Linked DNA regions of Homo sapiens: regions 1 and 3 are each linked to region 2. The links are contacts of gene promoters, found by promoter capture Hi-C in blood cells and fetal thymus (Javierre and others, 2016). All regions are on one chromosome and are shown on one strand. Each heading gives the region's core, a stretch centred on a gene start or on the middle of the fragment in contact. The rest is flanking DNA. Distances are from core to core; before and after follow the strand shown.

Region 1 (3,780 bases), core at 270-2,769, 520 kb after region 2:
ACTGGTGACTTCACATTTCCAACAGCATTGCTCATCTTGCTACAAAGCCTAAGTGGGTAGGAATGGGGAAAGCCGATGATGGCTCCTGAGAGGGGGCCTTACCCCCTAATTGGCACAGTGAGAAAAACCCTCTCCCCTTTCCCCTCCCATCTCCCTCCCCATATCGTCCCCAGATGGGGCAGCTTTATCTTTATAATTTCTTCAACACCTGTGTGTGACCAGACCCCACCCTAGCTCTAAAGCAGGGTCCCAAATTCCTGGGGAGGGCTCAAGGGTAAAGAGTAGATATGAACACGCCTGGCTCCACATCTGAAGCAGGGGACAAAGCTTCCAGGCATGACTCAGGGATCTGTGGGAAGAAGAAACAGAGAACAAGGTAAGAGGCTTACCTGGGGCTTGCCAACATTCTATCATCCAGATTCCCACCAAAGAAGATGGTGGCACCTAACCCGCTTCCATACACATACCTTTTCTGTGCTACCTTGCAGGGCTGGGCACAGCTAAGGGGCCTGGAGGTCCCATCCGGAAACTATGCTACTGTAATATGACATCTTCCCTCCAGTTCCCCAGGAGCTCTGGCTACCACTTGTCCTAAATCTCCCCTTCGCCCAGATCATGGGACTAGCTGGGCACCTAGGAGTGGTAATAGGCTATGAGGTGCTGTGGTGATTAGGGGGTACTGTACCTGGCTCAAAGTTGAAGTCCAGTCCCTCGCCCTCATCCATGAGGTCACTGATGATGTTATCCATGTCACACTCCAGGTTCTCCATATACATATCAAGATCTAGATCCTGAGGCATTCTGTCTTGGCTTGCAGCTTCAGTAGGGGGTGTGAGCACAGGAGTCCCCAGAGCCTTGGGGATGGGGGCACTTGCCATGACTGGAGGTGGTGCTATCATAGAAAGGGTGGGAACCAGACTGCTGGGGCCTGGAGCCTCTAGGGGCTTGGGACACAGGCCGACGCCCGTGGCCAGCTTACTGGAGGAAGGAAGCCCCCCCAGCAACAGAAGAGTCGGAGCCTGGGACAGAATGGGATCTACCTGGGTCATGAGGACGTCAGCAGGGGGTGGTGGCGTATCAGAGGTGAGCAGGGCCTCCAGAGCCTGGGAGCTGGAGAAGCACCCTTCTCCTGCTGACAGGGGCCCCTCTGCTGGGCTGAAAAGGGAGCTGCTGTAGGTGTGTAAGGGGCCGGTAACCCCAGGATGCTGCAAAGAGAAGCCAGAGAGACCACTCCGAGATAGCAGGGAATGGGAAGAGGTGAGATTGAGCCCATCTAACAGCTCTAGACCTTCATTGAGGGTGGGAGGGACACCCCCTGCATAACTGCTGACTGAAGCTGGTATTTCCTCCGCCAGCACCTCAGACTCTGGCCTCAAGGGGGACAGCCGGGTGCTGACACTGCTGGCATTTGAACTGCTTCGTGGACGGAAGGTGGTCCACATATCGGCTTCTTCACGGTTTCGAGAGCAAGGGCTGCCTGACCACTTGGCAAAGTGGCCGACAGGGCTCGTTGGAGTGGCACCTTCGGGTGGAGCTGGCAGCACAGATGGTTTCTTCTTGGGGGCTTTACTGCGGCCCCGGAGCAGCTTGCTGCTGCTATCCATGGAGGCGGCCCGGCGGCGGGGGGCTTTGCCGCTCTTGCCTCCCTCAGGGTTCAGCATCCACCAAGAGCTTTTGCCGGTGGCCTCGTTGTGAACCTTGATGAACTTGCTGTGCAGGGACAGGTTGTGGCGGATCGAGTTCTGGAGGGGCAGAGATGGCAGGAAAGGGGCGTGAGGTACTGTAGGGGAGGTCAGTGGCCAGCGGTCAAGTCTAAGAGGATGCTGGACCCTGATGATCTAGGGTTTAGGATTTGGTGCCACCACCGCAGCAGGGTTCATTTCGGGGCTTCATTTCCCAGGTCATTAAAGTTTAAGAAAAACTTTAAATAATTTACAAAAAAAGAGAAAAAGATAAAAGATAAAAGGGTGCTGGAACACAGCAGGGGTATTCCTGGAGACTCAAAGAAAGTTGAATCCAGGGGGGAAAACTGGTAGAAGTAGGGGTGGGGGTGGGGTGTGAGGGGAGACCACACACATTTCCCGCTCCCAGACAAGCTGCTCAGCCTCTGCTCCAGACTTCTCTGTACAGCGGGTGGGAGATAACGTGTAATAATCCACTGCAGAGAGCACGGGGGATGCCCACCCTGGAAAAGCTCCTGGTACTCTGCTCTTCCCAGGGCTTCGTGTGTGTTTTGCGGGGGGTGGGGGGAGCGGTACCTGGGGCTGGTGGGCACTGGGGAGACGTGCTCCTTGCCCAGCAAGAACTAGGTTCAGGTGGGAAAGAGCATTGCACCCCTTTCCTTGAGTGCAGGTTTGGGTAGAGTTTACGGGACAGTGGTACAGCACCAGCCCAGGATGGACCCGCCCTGCCCAGAGCCAGTTCTCTGAATAGGCTGAAGGGCTGGAATCTCAGCACAGCAGGTGCTCCATTCCCCACAGAGCATTTGGGCCACCCAGCTCTCTATAGAATTTAAAGATTCCTTTTTCCCCCCTCCCTGAATCCCAGCCTTATTTCTTCCAATCCACAACACACATCCTCAACTACATTCAGTTCAGGTTCAGGCTTCCTGCTGTGCCTCAAATGCGTGAGGTGCAATCTTCCCCTCCCCTCTTTTCCGAGGAGGGATCTCCCCTCTCTAAGTTTTACTAGTTCCGTCAAGACCAAGCTTCAGTTCCACCTCTTTTATAAAGCGGCTGCTTGACTTTGGCAGCCAAATTTCTAGTATAGTATTTTTAAAATCTGCGCCACACAATTTCACCCAATTTATATTGTGTGGCTTATGGTTTCATGTAATTCGTCTCATCGAGTGTAAGTGCCAAGTGTAATGTCCTCCAGTCCCACATCCCCCATCAAAGCCCTCCCAGAGCACCAAGCTCACAGCACATATTCTATACCTACTCAAGCTCACAGTACATAATCAATATTTGTACCTGATTGGTGGGTTGCCCCTGGGTTGACAATGGTGAGGCTCCCCTTGAGGCTCTGCCAGCTCTTCAGTGCCTTGGGTATTGGAAGCTGTATGTTTTCCCTTCCTCCCTCACTGGTGACATTCTACTAGGGAAACGATGCTTTCCAGTGGCCCAGGGAGCTGAGATTGGCAGCTTCTTCAGCCCCCAGTGCAGCTTATATTTACTGATTGCCGCGGGGCAGGCTAGTTACACAAGGGGTTTGGCCCTCCCCTGGCCACCCCCCTTCCCGAAACCTGCCTTCTTTTCCCTACCTCCTTCCCAGTGCCTTTCCCCCATTTCTCAGGAATTTGTGCATAAACTCTTCAACCTTGGGGGCATTTGACCTCCCACTTGGAGGTCTTTAGTTTAGAAATTCAGGAGGAGCCCAGAAGTGCTTAGAGCAACTAGGAGGCTGAGTACATGGGACGGTCAGAAACTACTTGTTTCTCTGACTGGTGCTCTTAAGATAAGGAGCACCTTTGCCTGGGGAATGATGCTTCTTGTTCCAGGGTTCTTTAGCCAAAGAACTCCTTGTGTTCCTGGGACCCTGAGGTAATGGCATTTCAACTGTGCTGATGTTCCTTCAAGGAGTGGCACTTGTCCATCCGGCCTCACCTCATAGTAACTAAGGACCACAATGACCATGACCTGGCACTATGATTTCTCCTCTTTTTATCCTCTAATTCTGGATCTACTTGAGAAGATCCATTCCTTTCCCTACTACTTAATAGCCACAAGGCCCGTTTGTCTCCTCTTCTTTAGGCCTTGGAACTAGCAAGTGGTACACAGA
Region 2 (4,017 bases), core at 630-3,129:
CTGCTCATCCTAACTGGCCTGGTTTCTGGAATCCTTCCTGCTCCCTCCACTGGCACTGCTCCTGACCTCTGCCAGGCCCTCAGTTCCCTCTGGCCTGAACCCTGCAGGTGACAAGCTGTTTAGAGCAAGGAGAGTCACATCTGTCCACAGGAGGGGAAGGGCCTTGATGCCTTGCAAGTATGCCTCATGTGGGTGTAAATTTAATTCCAGGCCCTAGCCTGGAGGCTTTGGTGGGGCAGTCTGGCTGAAAACTGGCCCCAAGACCATGGGCTAGCACTTGCTTTTCTCTCTCTCTCTCTTCTCTCTTCTCTCTTCTTTCTCTCTCTCCCTCCACCCCTGCTTTCCAACTAGGGGAGAGAGAGAAAGAGGAAACTGCTTGGGAGAAGCAAATTACGGGCAGCCTTGCCCACTGGTAATGAGAAGAGGGCGACAGGGAGGGGAGAAGAGGGCAAAGGGGAGAGCTGAGGGCAGGTGGGGAGAGGAATTGTTCACCATTCTCTGCCATAAAGTGACTGATGTGCTGTACCAAGGCTGCCTTACAGCTTTTCCTTAAGATCAAGAAGTTCCTATGGCCTCCTCCCCAACCCCATCCTCCTTCTTGCCCGAGAAGCAACTGCTTTTATGAATTTGTGGTATCTCCTGTCCCTGTTTTAAACCTCGAGAACCAACAGTGTTATCCAAAACAACATGGTATTGATTTTGTGGTGGTTTTTAGAGTTTATGTAAGTGGCATCAAACTATACATGGCATTCTGTAACTTGCTTCTTCTACCATGTGATCGTTGGCTTTTCTAGATGCATCCATGTTCAAATGTGTAGCTTTAGTTCATTTGTTTTTAACTGCATGAATATATCATAGCTTATTCACTTAAAAGAAACTGAAGACAGTGTTCATGAGTAGGAAAAGGAGAATCAGACAGCCGTGGGATCAATCCTCACGCCCACCTTTAATTGCCGTGTCTGGCGAAGGCCTGTCCCCTTTCTGAATCATCCATGCAGATAACCCCGCACGTCACAAGTGAGTTGTGTGGTTGAAATAAGGCAGTGTCGGAGAAAGCACCTAAAGCAATGTCTATCACATAGCAAGTTCATTACTGGTAGTTCCCTTTCTTTTTCCCCACTGATTAGCAGGGAGAGGTGGTGGTAAAAAGCTAGATTTAGTGTAACGGCTTTTTAAAAAAATATTTTAATTCCCTTTTTAAGAGACAGGGCCTCACTCTGTCACCAGGCTGGAGTGCAGTGGTACAATTATATCTCAAGGCAGACTTGAACTCCCGGGCTCAAGCAATCCTCCTGTCTCAGGCTTCCAAGTAGTTAGGACTACAGGCACATGCCACCATGCCCGGCTGGCTTTTTTTATTTTTGGTAGAGATGGAGCCTCGCTATGCTGCCCAGGCTGGTCTCAAACTCTTGGCCTTAAGTGATCCTCTTGCCTCAGCCTCCCCAGTAGCTGGGATTACAGGAATGAGCCACTGCACCTAGCTGAAATTTTTAAGAAGGTGGATCTCCTCTGCAGACTTATTTCTCTACCCAGCCTTTACAATCATGCAAAGATCAACTCAAGGCCAGGACAGATGAGTTCCAATCTATGGAGCACTGACCCTACCAGTGCAGGCAGTAGGGTTGCCCTTCACTTCTCAGCTGCATTGCTTCCTCTTCAGACCTCTCTTCTCAAAGGACCTGCCCCCAGCCAGTCATCCTCTGCCCAGCTTTTCTGGTCCCAAGCTTGTAGCCAGCTCCTCCAGAGAGGTTTCACCCAGTCACGGAAACTCTGTGGCCTGAGGTTTAGGGAGGTCTGGTAGAGGTAACTCCCTGGAAGAGGCTGCTGCTGAGAACTGCCTGAAACTCCCACTTCCTCTGTGACTGCAGGTTTCCAACCACAAGCACCAAAGCAGAGGGGCAGGCAGCACACCACCCAGCAGCCAGAGCACCAGCCCAGCCATGGTCCTTGAGGTAAGTGCTGCTGCCCAGCCAGGCCAGGCCAGAATTCGAAGTGGAAAACCCGGGGCATCAGGGGAATGCCAGGGCTGGCCCACAGCCCAGGGTCACCACAGGGTTGGGTGAGTAGCTGGAGGCCGCATGGGTTGTGGCAGAAACAGCACTGGGGAATTGGGAACCCAGCTTGGCCACTGACCCTGGGTGCCTCTCCTCTCCTCTCTGGCTTCGGTGTCTCGTCTGCAAAATGGGGGGGGCGGGGGGCAAGTAGACTCGAAGGCTCCCTTCAGGAGACTTGGAACTTTGACTCTTGGCGTGCTGGACTAAATTGGTACTGGGGAGACCTGCAGGTCCATAGTGCTGGGGGTGAGGGGATAAAGAAGATTCCTTCTCAAGCTAAGTGGGGGATCCCCTTGTGGGCAGCTAAATGGCCGTGCAAGCCTCAGTGTAGGGAGGGGGAAGGACTGGGCAGACTGCATGCATTTGGGGGGCGTGGTGACTTGTAGAGAGGCCACACGGTGGGGGGGGGCGCAGGAAGTTGGGGTCCCCGGACAAGGGCCAAGGAGGGAAGAGGAGGGTTAGTGACTGGAAAAGGGGATTGTGGAGAGGCGCTGGGGAGGAAGGTGGTTGAACTATGTGTTGGGGGTGGGGCACTGAGGACGCAAGGCAAGCCTGAAGGGAGAGCAGGGAGAGAGAGGACAGTGGGCAGAGAGGGCTCTGGGCACTGGAGGGACGCTCTTCTTCCTGCCCAGGGGTCCCTGGGCCGATGGGATCACGCAGAAGAATGCGAGAGAAGCAGCCTTTGAGAAGGGAAGTCACTATCCCAGAGCCCAGGCTGAGCGGATGGAGTTGAGGAAGTACGGCCCTGGAAGACTGGCGGGGACAGTTATAGGAGGAGCTGCTCAGAGTAAATCACAGACTAAATCAGACTCAATCACAAAAGAGTTCCTGCCAGGCCTTTACACAGCCCCTTCCTCCCCGTTCCCGCCCTCACAGGTGAGTGACCACCAAGTGCTAAATGACGCCGAGGTTGCCGCCCTCCTGGAGAACTTCAGCTCTTCCTATGACTATGGAGAAAACGAGAGTGACTCGTGCTGTACCTCCCCGCCCTGCCCACAGGACTTCAGCCTGAACTTCGACCGGGCCTTCCTGCCAGCCCTCTACAGCCTCCTCTTTCTGCTGGGGCTGCTGGGCAACGGCGCGGTGGCAGCCGTGCTGCTGAGCCGGCGGACAGCCCTGAGCAGCACCGACACCTTCCTGCTCCACCTAGCTGTAGCAGACACGCTGCTGGTGCTGACACTGCCGCTCTGGGCAGTGGACGCTGCCGTCCAGTGGGTCTTTGGCTCTGGCCTCTGCAAAGTGGCAGGTGCCCTCTTCAACATCAACTTCTACGCAGGAGCCCTCCTGCTGGCCTGCATCAGCTTTGACCGCTACCTGAACATAGTTCATGCCACCCAGCTCTACCGCCGGGGGCCCCCGGCCCGCGTGACCCTCACCTGCCTGGCTGTCTGGGGGCTCTGCCTGCTTTTCGCCCTCCCAGACTTCATCTTCCTGTCGGCCCACCACGACGAGCGCCTCAACGCCACCCACTGCCAATACAACTTCCCACAGGTGGGCCGCACGGCTCTGCGGGTGCTGCAGCTGGTGGCTGGCTTTCTGCTGCCCCTGCTGGTCATGGCCTACTGCTATGCCCACATCCTGGCCGTGCTGCTGGTTTCCAGGGGCCAGCGGCGCCTGCGGGCCATGCGGCTGGTGGTGGTGGTCGTGGTGGCCTTTGCCCTCTGCTGGACCCCCTATCACCTGGTGGTGCTGGTGGACATCCTCATGGACCTGGGCGCTTTGGCCCGCAACTGTGGCCGAGAAAGCAGGGTAGACGTGGCCAAGTCGGTCACCTCAGGCCTGGGCTACATGCACTGCTGCCTCAACCCGCTGCTCTATGCCTTTGTAGGGGTCAAGTTCCGGGAGCGGATGTGGATGCTGCTCTTGCGCCTGGGCTGCCCCAACCAGAGAGGGCTCCAGAGGCAGCCATCGTCTTCCCGCCGGGATTCATCCTGGTCTGAGACCTCAGAGGCCTCCTACTCGG
Region 3 (4,281 bases), core at 1,055-3,554, 560 kb after region 2:
TAATAAGAAATGAGGTACACGGTGCTTTACCATCTCATTCCCACTCTGTCTCTCTCCCATGTGGCTGGAATTTTGTGTGTGCCTGCAGATTGTAGTACCACCACTGCCTGGGAAAGCCTTGAAGCGGCAGCTCCCTTTCCGAGGAGATGAAGGGATCTTTGAGGAGTCTTTCATCGAAGAAAGGAGGCAGGGCCTCGAGCAGTTTATTAACAAGTAAGCCAAGTTCCTGGGGGCTCCACTTGCTACTTTTGCCATCGTAGTCTTTCTATATGTTTTGTTTACCTCACCTTTTATTTTATTTTTATTTACTTATTTATTTATTTGAGACAGAGTCTCACTCTGTCACCTAGGCTGGAGTGCAATGGTGTGATCTCGGCTCACTGCAACCTCCGTCTCCTGGGTTCAAGTGATTCTCCTGCCTCAGCCTCCTGAGTAACAGGGATTACAGGCGCCGGCCACCATGCCCAGCTAATTTTCATGTTTTTAGTAGCGATGGGGTTTCACCATGTTGGCCAGACTGGTCTCGAACTCCTGACCTTAAGTGATCCACCTGCCTTGGCCTCCCAAAGTGTTGGGATTACAGGCGTGAGCCACCGCACCCAGCTCACCTTTTATAATGGGTACCATGATGTGGTGCCAATTGTGTGGTGGGCTGACTGGACAGTAAAACTCCATTCCTTTGAGTAGGATTCTGATCCTGTGTGTCAGGGCCTGAGAAAGCACTGCATGTTGGTTATATCTAGGGATTTCCCTGTCTTGCCCCTCTATCCCCCGTCCCCTTTACAATATTAGGGTTGAGGTGGTACCCTACTGCTGTCCTCTACTGGCTTGAACCTCAGGGCTGACCTTGCCCTTCTTCCCCTGTCCACATCCCCATCCCTCTGCTAATTCTCTCTGATTCTGAATACTACTGATAACCATCCTGGTTTCTTTATAGAATTGCTGGGCACCCACTGGCTCAGAATGAACGCTGCCTACACATGTTCCTGCAAGAGGAGGCAATTGACAGGAACTACGTCCCGGGGAAGGTGCGCCAGTAGGAGCCCCTCTCACCACCTGCCCTCTACTTTCCTGCTGAAATGACATTGGTTTTTACACTAAGCCTCTCTCTGTCTTTGATCTGAAGTTGGCTGCCCATCTCCTGGCCTGATAGACTGTCTGGCATTGTGCTCCCTGGTACCTGACTACACCATGTGGGCACTCTGCTAGGATCCTCTTCTCTGAGGAGAGGTGGGAACCCACAGGCAGATGCCCTTTGCTTGGGGTTGGGGTGGGTGGGTGGGGGGATTAGACTGGAAGGCAATTTCTTGGGCATTTACCCATGCCAGAAGGCTAACCTGGGGGGAGGGGGGCGCTTGTGCTGGTGAGGCACTTGGATACATACTGATGCTGCAAGTTCAGGGGATTTTTCTTACTCTTAGGTTTAACCAAGAACACTGAGCAGGGAAAAACCCTGCCTTTCCTAACTGCATGTATTTTTTCCTTTTTGGAAAGGTGGTAGAGACTCAGAAGCTTTCCTTGTTTTCTTCAGGCCTGCTCCCAGTTTTCTTAACAGTTTCTTTTGTTGCTTTCTCTCTCCCTTGTTGCTTTCCATGGCAGTAATCCTCCTAGAGTCCAAGCAGTCTGTTGTATGGAGCAGGGTGTGTGGGTTTTCTGGGCCCATCATTATGGCTGCTTCAGAGTCAGAAGAAAGCCATAGGGCAGTAGGGGAGCTCCTATTGCCTAGCCCCTCTCCCTTTGTGGCTCCCACTCTAGCTGCCTATTTTTGCTCATCAGCTGGTGAGTCAGTATGGGCCAGCAGTTCTCCCTCCCTAAGCCCTTGCTACTTTATGGGTTAGCTTTGCAGGTTTGGTGGCTTGAGGGGTGGGGGCAACTCACCACTGCCAGGTAACTCCCTGAAGGGTGGGAGTGGATTATCTTCTAGGCTCTTACCCGCGGTAGGGAAGGGCATCAACACTGTCTTCCTTCCATTCTCCTTTCCCCCATCCCATTTAGTGCTGCCACAGGGCAGAAGCACACAAACCAACCACACAGTCTCTGACTTCTCCTAAGCACTTTGAGTTGTTGAATGGGGCTCAGGGGCAAGAGTTTTTGCTGCCCTCCCCAGCGTGGTCACAGGGTTATTGAACTGCCTGCACTTGTTTCTCATGCAACTCCAGCATTTTCCCCAGAAGTTGAACTATGGATAGCAGCTTGGTATGGATTTCCTAAATCTTAACATTTGAAGCAGCTTCTTGAGGCTGGCAACTATCCTGGTTTCTGTCTTGGAGGGGGTGGTTTGTTTGCTGGGGCCCAACGTCTGTCCCAAGTGGTGGGGTGAGAGTAAGTTAACTTTGGTGCCAGGTGAGAGGTGGGGGCTCTTTGCTTAGACTCCCTATCATGGAAAGATTGGAGTTTTCTATGCAGGGCACTGTGGAAAAGGATTGCTGATTCTGACTGACCCTGATCAGAGAGATTAGGATTGTATTTTGACATAGGATTTGGAACCCATCTAAATGTTGAAGTTCCCTGAGACAGCTCTCCAGCTGCTGAGCCTGCGCCAGGGGCTAAGCAGCCCCTAATGAGAGGCTCTGCTCCCTTTCCCACCTCGCCAATGTTGTTGTTGCTGCCTTTTTGATTTGTATCCTCTGTTATAGACATTTTTTAAAAACGATTTCCTCTTTCATTGTGCACAAGTGCTGAGAGTCTGAGGCCCCATTTCTGCTGTGTATATATATCCTGACTCGGGGCTTTTATTCAGCAAACTGTTCATTCTTCTGTCAGACAATGTCATATTCAACTCTGTTCATATTAAACCACTGTGAAGCAAGCCTCTGTTTTCCTGCTTAAGTTGTAAATTTAGTATTCTTTAGTGTCTAGGATATGCTGGGTATTATGCAGAAATCATACAGTGTGGCCAGTGTCCTGAGGTAATGTTTTGCATTTAAATTTTTTTAGAAAGCAGAATCTTAACTTATCTTAATGATATTTACCTATCCTTTTTGCAACTCACAACTGACTTTGTCACAGAGGTAATGCATCTGCTTGCAGGAAGTAGCTGTAGGCTCAGTACCTGTTGTTTGAGTCAGATTTAGCAGATTTGGTTTTTAAGCTTGTGGGTTTGTGCTAATTTGGGCAGAATATATTTATTATATATGTGTGTGTGTATGTGTGTATGTGTGTGTCTGCATATGTAATACATGTACATAAACACACATGCATGTGTTCATCCTCTGACACACCCACACAACACCAACAAACATTTCTTCTATAGGCTTTTTATCTCAACTGACACTGTTTTTTTTCCCAAATAAATTTGACACAGGCAGAAAGGTGGGTGAACTCTCAGAACTTTTGGTGGGTGGATATTCATCTGACCAGTGAGCTCTGAAATGGTTTCCCTACACAGAGTGGGTTTTGGCAAGGGTTGGAATGAGGGGAGGTAGCAGTCTTGTCATTTAGAAAATCAAAGCTAGTTTTGATGTAGCTCAACATGGAAAGAAGGTACAGAAAGTGATGTGTTCAAAACATTAGCAAATTAAGGCTGAATGTGGTTGGCTCATGCCTGTAATCCCAGCATTTTGGGAGGCTGAGGCAGGAGGATTGCTTGAGCCCAGGAGGTTGAGACTAGCCTGGGCAACAGAGTGAGACACTGTCTCTACAAAAAATTTCAAAAGAAAAAAAAAAAGGAAATTAATGTTACTTAGCAGTATTTGGTTCTAAGTAGAAGAGTGGGGGCTGTGAGGAAGTTGAGGTTTTTGGTAGTTCATGAATGAGATGACTAAAAATATCTGAGGGGATAGGGAAGAATGGGTATTTCTGTGAAATAAAGGAAAGGAAGGGTAAAGAGAGATGCAACCTTCATAGGCAGCAGTGTTAGAGAATGAACTGCAGAATAAATAGAAAAGCAGCTATAAAATAAAGTGTTAACAAAAATTTGGACAGATGACAACTCATTTAACAAGTGCTAATAGTCTTCTGTGTGTCTGGTCCTATGCTAACAGCAGGGCTGGGGATAGGGTGGAGTGGTTGTGGTACAAGTAAAATATGATATTACATTCTCTTTTTTCGTAGACCTTAAGAGTTCAGTTGAAGAGATGTTTAGCTGGGCGTGGTGGCTTATGCCTGTAATCCCAGCACTTTGGGAGGATTGCTTGAGCCCAGGAGTTGGAGACTAGCCTGGGCAACCGAGTGAGATCTCATCTCTACAAAAAAAAAAAAAAAAAAAAATTAAAAATCTGGCCAGGTATGGTGGCACATGATAGTCCCAGCTACTTGGGAGGCTGAAGCCGGAGGATTGCT

What was found. Contacts are between HindIII fragments. The CHiCAGO score rates a contact against its expected background, and 5 or more counts as called.
Region 1: a fragment that was not itself captured here is called in contact with the fragment with the promoter of CXCR3 in region 2 in 1 of 17 cell types (naive CD8 T cells); the score reaches 7.3 in naive CD8 T cells.
Region 3: a fragment that was not itself captured here is called in contact with the fragment with the promoter of CXCR3 in region 2 in 1 of 17 cell types (naive B cells); the score reaches 5.9 in naive B cells.

Annotation. Positions count from the first base shown.
Region 1 is chrX:71,098,646-71,102,425 of GRCh38, reverse strand. FOXO4 (forkhead box O4) reads right to left here. Exons shown (of 3, transcript NM_005938.4): 2 at 686-1,742; 3 at 1-349. The coding sequence ends at 342. Among named protein-coding and RNA genes, the nearest start is that of FOXO4, 4.7 kb to the right of the region's middle. RefSeq lists enhancers at 1,058-1,107, 1,394-2,004. The HindIII fragment of the contact is 2,380 bases long and covers 330-2,709 here.
Region 2 is chrX:71,616,373-71,620,389 of GRCh38, reverse strand. CXCR3 (C-X-C motif chemokine receptor 3) reads left to right here and starts at 1,879. Exons shown (of 2, transcript NM_001504.2): 1 at 1,879-1,952; 2 at 2,931-4,017. The coding sequence starts at 1,941. RefSeq lists an enhancer at 3,880-4,017. The HindIII fragment of the contact is 3,713 bases long and covers 1,727-4,017 here.
Region 3 is chrX:71,057,775-71,062,055 of GRCh38, reverse strand. SNX12 (sorting nexin 12) reads left to right here. Exons shown (of 4, transcript NM_013346.4): 3 at 89-213; 4 at 938-2,809. The coding sequence ends at 1,040. Among named protein-coding and RNA genes, the nearest start is that of SNX12, 8.4 kb to the left of the region's middle. The HindIII fragment of the contact is 1,579 bases long and covers 1,515-3,093 here.